2 separate regions of the Homo sapiens genome follow, and region 1 is linked to region 2. The links are contacts of gene promoters, found by promoter capture Hi-C in blood cells and fetal thymus (Javierre and others, 2016). All regions are on one chromosome and are shown on one strand. The core of a region is centred on a gene start or on the middle of the fragment in contact, and the rest is flanking DNA. Distances in the headings are between cores, read along the strand shown.

Evidence for each region. The method cuts DNA at HindIII sites, captures the fragments that hold promoters and counts their contacts. A CHiCAGO score of 5 or more calls a contact.
Region 1: a fragment that was not itself captured here is called in contact with the fragment with the promoter of DDX28 in region 2 in 1 of 17 cell types (naive B cells); the score reaches 5.5 in naive B cells.

Annotation. Positions count from the first base shown.
Region 1 is chr16:67,482,661-67,485,360 of GRCh38, forward strand. It overlaps AGRP (agouti related neuropeptide), which reads right to left and starts at 887. Exons shown (of 4, transcript NM_001138.2): 1 at 857-887; 2 at 609-741; 3 at 365-450; 4 at 1-158. The coding sequence starts at 738. It overlaps ATP6V0D1-DT (ATP6V0D1 divergent transcript), which reads left to right. Exons shown (of 4, transcript NR_184227.1): 2 at 1,450-1,668. The HindIII fragment of the contact is 370 bases long and covers 1,200-1,569 here.
Region 2 is chr16:68,021,813-68,024,512 of GRCh38, forward strand. DDX28 (DEAD-box helicase 28) reads right to left here and starts at 1,420. Exons shown (of 1, transcript NM_018380.4): 1 at 1-1,420. The coding sequence starts at 1,390. It overlaps DUS2 (dihydrouridine synthase 2), which reads left to right and starts at 1,472. Exons shown (of 17, transcript NM_017803.5): 1 at 1,472-1,539. RefSeq lists enhancers at 121-871, 872-1,622, 1,333-1,572. The HindIII fragment of the contact is 5,621 bases long and covers 505-2,700 here.

The DNA of each region.
Region 1 (2,700 bases), core at 135-2,634, 540 kb before region 2:
GCAGTACCCAGCTTGCGGCAGTAGCAGAAGGCATTGAAGAAGCGGCAGTAGCACGTGGCACATGGGTCACAGCAAGGCACCTGCTGTCCCAGGCAGGACTCATGCAGCCTTACGCAGCGACGTGAGGAGCGGGGCTCGCGGTCCTGCAGGTCTAGTACCTGCAGGGGTGGGGAACCAGCACAGGCCTCTAAAGACAGATCCAGGGATCTTACCTGTCCCAACCTGTGCAGGATGGCAGTGGAGCATGGGAAGGGGTGGTCGGTAGTGTCGTCGCTGGTGAGGGAGTTTGGAGCTGGGGAGAGGAGCTAATACCCAATGCCCCCTCCCAAGGGCCACCACCTTACCCTTTTCCCTGAGCAGTTACCTCTGCCAAGGCCTGAGCCTCCTGCAACAGATCCTCTTCTGCCTGTTCTGCAGTTGTCTTCTTCAGTGGGGCCCGCAGGCCCAGGCCTGGGGCAGAGGATGTGAGGGCAGGAACCCCCATGCACAAAGCACCCACCTCCCAGGGGAGGGTTTGGGAAGGGAGAAAGAGGGTTTATGCCAGGGGAGACTATTTGTGGCCAGAGGGTATTCAGGCCCCGCCCAGTCCCACCCTTGCTCACACTGACCTGGGAGCTCTGGGAGCAGGGCCTGGTCAGGCCTTCTGATGCCCTCCATGGGGGCCAAGCCCATCTGGGCTCCTCGCGTGGCAGGCAGTGCCAGCAGCAGGGCACAGCTCAGCACCGCTGCGGTCAGCATGGCCTGGCTCAGCAGGAAGATGTACCACTTAGTCCCTCCTTATCCTTGGAGTCCCCTCTAGGTGCCCAGATAGAGACCCCACAGAGAGGAGGAGTCCCTGCCCAACCTGAGGACTCACCTCTGCCTCCGGGATTCTTGCCTAGAGAGTTCCCGGCCACCCCGTGCCCTTGGCTTATATGGCAGGGCCTAATGAAGGGCCACACGTGACTGATCCCTGCAGCCAGGCCGTGAAGGACCCTTCCTGGAGGGTGGGGGCACAGTTCAGGCCCTCACTCCCTGAACCTGAGCCTTTTGTTCTACAAGAGGAGTGCCTATCTCCAATTTGGGGTGAGGTTTCCAGGAGCCGATTAAAATTTGGGAGCAAGAGAGGGTGCCCAGGGTCCACAAATTTCCACAGGACAGGGACCTAGGAGCTGAGCAGGGCTAGAACCATTAGCAATAACAAGGCAGGCGGCCCTGAAAGCTTAATTTAATTTGTGGCCCCAGAGATGCTTACTCAACCCCTATGTGGCATGTTGTTTCCTGTGCTTCCAAGAATTCGGGTCAAGGACATTGGAGCGGGTGATGGGCCAATGGCCACTGTTGGGCAGGGGTAGGTGCAGAACCAGAACCTGGGTTTCTTTGGAGGGAAAGGGGAAGGAAAAGCCCACCTAACCAATCCTAGGCCCTCCTGACTACATTTCTGGTCCTCCCCTCCCTTTCTCCCTCCAGGTTTCTCCAAGACCGCCCACTCCTGCTCCTGTCCCCAAACCCCTTTCTGCCTAGGGTTCCTGGAAGCCAAGGAAACAGAACGAACTGTTCCCTGGGTGGGCGAGCCACTGCAGAGTACAAAGCTTTCAGGCCGCCTGCCTCATTAGCACTAATGGCTGCTCCCTTCCGCCCTGTGTCGTCAGGACTGTCTATGCCTGGTCTCATCAGCACAAGGCTGGGGTAAGGACTGCCCTTTTGTGGAGATGGCAGGACATACAGGACCCTGCTGCCCCTGCCTTCCCTCACCCCACTGCAGAGCTGTTTATCACACACGTGTCCATCTGGGAAAGGAATGCAGGCTGAATCAGCTTTGAGAGGATCGCAAGGCCCCAGTGCACAAACTGGGTTGGCACAAGGCAGTGGAAAAAAGATGAAGGGGGCCAGGTATGGTGGCTCACACCTGTAATTCCAGCATTTTGAGAGGCCAAGGTGGGAGGATCACAAGGCCAGGGGTTTAAGACCAGCCTGGGTATCATGGTGAGACCCCGTTGCTACAAAAAATAAAAAAATAGCTGGGTGTAGTGGTGCATGCCTGTAGTAGAGGCTGAGGTGGGAGGATGGCTTGAGCACAGGGATTCAAGAGTGCAGTGAGCTATGACTGCATCACCACACTCCAGGCTGAGCGACAGAGCAAGATCCTGTCTCAAAAAGAAAAGAAGATAAAGGGTGGCCAGGCACGGTGGCTCACGCCTGTAATCCCAGCATTTTGGGAGGCCAAGGTGGGCGGATCACTGGAGGTCAGGAGTTCAAACCAGCTTGGCCAATATGGTGAAACCCTATCTCTACTAAAAATACAAAAGTTATTCAGGCATGGTGGCACATGCCTGTAATCCCACCTACCCGGGAGGCTGAGGCAGGAGAATCACTTGTAACACGGGAGGCAGAGACTGCAGTGAGCAGAGATCGCACCACTGCACTCCAACCTGGGTGACAGAGTGAGACTCCATCTTAAAAAAAAAATGCTATTTAAAATGAAATGAAGCAATCCATACTCCCAACATTTATATATACTGGGACATCCAAGAAATTAAAATCACACCTCATTATGTCTTTTTCTTTGAGTCAGGGTCTCACTCTGTCACCCAGGCTGGGCCTGGTCAGCACCCATGCTATGGAGAGCTCTTCATGGTCTGGTGTGGACAGAGTGGGAGTGGAAGATCTCCTCCCACACAGGTGCTCAGTGTCTTACCTCACCTACGGGCAGCAGCTGTC
Region 2 (2,700 bases), core at 170-2,669:
TGCTGTCCAGGCCCCGAGAGGCTATGTCTGTGCAGAGAAGTATGTCTCGGGAGCTCTTCTGGAAGGACTGGAAGATTCCTACCCTCATCAAGGCTGGCATTTGCCCCTGCAACCTTAGGTGTTGGATTTTGTGGTCATCCAGAATATATCCCAGCCAGTTCACAGTGCTGGAGCTATTACAGAACACCAGAACAGTTCCTGAGGGACCAGTCCTTTCTGCTCTGTCACGATGCTTGAGGATGTGCACCAGCTCGGCCACCTTATCTGCTCCCTTCAGTCTCAGAAATGTCTGTTTCACATGAGGCATGATACAGTGGAGCTTGGAGCTGGTGATGGTGGTGACAGCATCTGGGCTGGCGACTTTATTCAGCAACTGGCCTACACCTTCGGGAAATGTGGCTCCTACCAGCACTAACTGAGCTTTGGGATTGAAGGGGTCTTCCAAGTCAGCTGGGCCTTCTGCTATGTGGCTCTTCTCTAAGATGTAGTCCACCAGTTCCAGGAAGCTTTCATCCAGCAGTGTGTCTGCCTCATCCAACACCAAGAAGGAGAGTTGCTCCAGACTGATCAGTCGACTTTTCAGGGCCTTCCACAGAGCCCCTGGAGTGGCCACAAGCACATCTGCTGAAGGCTGTCTGGACAGCTGCAGCCTGATCCTACGCATGCCGTGGCCTCCCTCCAGGTCCCGCACCAGCAGGCCCAAGGAGCGGCCCAAGGGTTGGGCCACAGCCCGCACCTGTTGGGCCAATTCTCGGGAAGGAACAAGGACCAGGCCTCGGGGCGCGGGGATAGGAAGGGAGTCCAGGCTTGGCTGGCCCAAGAGCCGTTGAAGCAGCGGCAGGAGGTAGCTGAGAGTCTTGCCACTGCCGGTTTCTGCGGCGCAAACGACATGGCGGCCGCGAAGTAGTGAGGGGATGGTGCTAGACTGCACGGTTGTGGGCTGAACGACTTCAGGCGCAGCCTCCTGTAGTGCGTGCAGCACACGGGGCTCCAGGCCCAGGTCAGCAAAGCTGCCCTTAGACGAGAGCTTTCGCACCGCTGGCGCCTCCTGTTGCGCGCGCTCGATGGAGAAGTGGTCCCGACGCGCGCGTCGACTCTTCCAGCCTTGAGAGGCTAGCGGCGCGCGCTCCCAACGGCCCAGTGTGAGGCGCGCCGGCTGGTTCAACTCCGGCCGCCGCGCCGAAACCAGCAGCGGTCCGGGTCGAACCAGCACCGGCCTCGGGAGGTTCCGCCGCCTGCTCTGCCGCTGTTCCAACTGCCGCTGTAGAGCCACTGGGATGCGCACCACCGGCAGGGGTTCGTCGGGACTGCGGACCGTGAGGCCCCGTCGCGGCGCCAGGAGCAACCGAGTCACGAGGGAAAAGAGCCGCACCGGCCGCGTTAGAGCCATGTTTCCCTTAGTGCGGGAGAAGCGCACATCAGTGACGTCACGGACGCGCCGCGACCTCGCGTACGGTGGCTGGCGAGGCTCAGTACGGTGTGTGGAGCTGGAGCACCGTGAGGAAGAAGCGAGGTTCTTTTTAAGAGTTCAGCTGCGAGGTCTGTAGCTCCGAATAGGGGATGGCGACATCCAGACCCGGCCAGCCTTGGGGAAGGGCGCGTCGTGGAGGCAGGACTGGAGGCTGGCGATACGAGGCGGCAGTGGGGCCTTGACCCAATGGACCATGAGGGCGGAGGGCTTCTGGCGATTGGTTACCTGGTTCCTGGGATTCTCTTTAGTTGTTCCTCATTGCCCTGAGATAGCTTGTCCCGTGCTGGTATCCGAGGTTGCAGCTGTTTTCCCAGATGTGTTCCCTGCGCAGGGTCTGGTAATCCGTGTTTATTGAGAGTTTGAATGAATGATCAGGCCTAGGGGCCGAGACAGGGGTCTGAAGTCATAGATCTGGGCTCAACCCCTCACCCTCTCTGTCTGTGAGCCCAGAGTGCAAGCTGATGGCTTTCAGCTTCTTCTCTCTCTCAAGTGGGAGATAAGGTCTTCAGGTTTTATTTCAAGTTGGGTCATCTTTTCTTCACAGTTATTTTCCTTCCTTTTAAGCCAAGGTTCACTCTCTACTCCCTCGTCACGCGTCCCAACTTCTCATCCAGAACCCACCCCTCTTGCAGCCCGCTCAGCTCCACTGGCTTCCCCGTCAGAAACCTGAATTACCTAAAATAGTAGTAAGAAGGGTGCTGCGACCCTACAAAGTGATCAAGTACGTGGCTTATCATGTAGCCCTGGTCAGGCAGAATATTTTACCTGAATTCAGATATTCGGGTTGTAAAAACAAGAACTATACGAGTCACTTTTTTTTTTTTTTTTTCTGAGACACAGTCTCGTTCTGTCACCCAGGCTGGAGTGCAGTGGCGCAATCTCGGCTCACTGCAACCTCCACCTCCTGGGTTCAGGTGATTCTCCTGCCTCTGCCTCCCAAGTAGCTGAGACTACAGCCGTACACCACCCACGCCCGGCTAATTTTTTCTGTTTTTAGTAGAGACAGGGTTTCACTATGTAGGCCTGGCTGGTCTCGAACTCCTGGCCTCAAGCGATCTTCCCACCTCGGCCTCCCAAAGTGATGGGATTATAAGCGTGAGCCACCATGCCCAACAGATACTTCTTGAACAGATCTGGAAAATGGGTGTCAGATCTTTTCTGTAATTTGCAGTGCCTGGGGTGGGAGATAAGGTAAATATTTATGGATTAACTCTCTGGGAGGTTCGTAA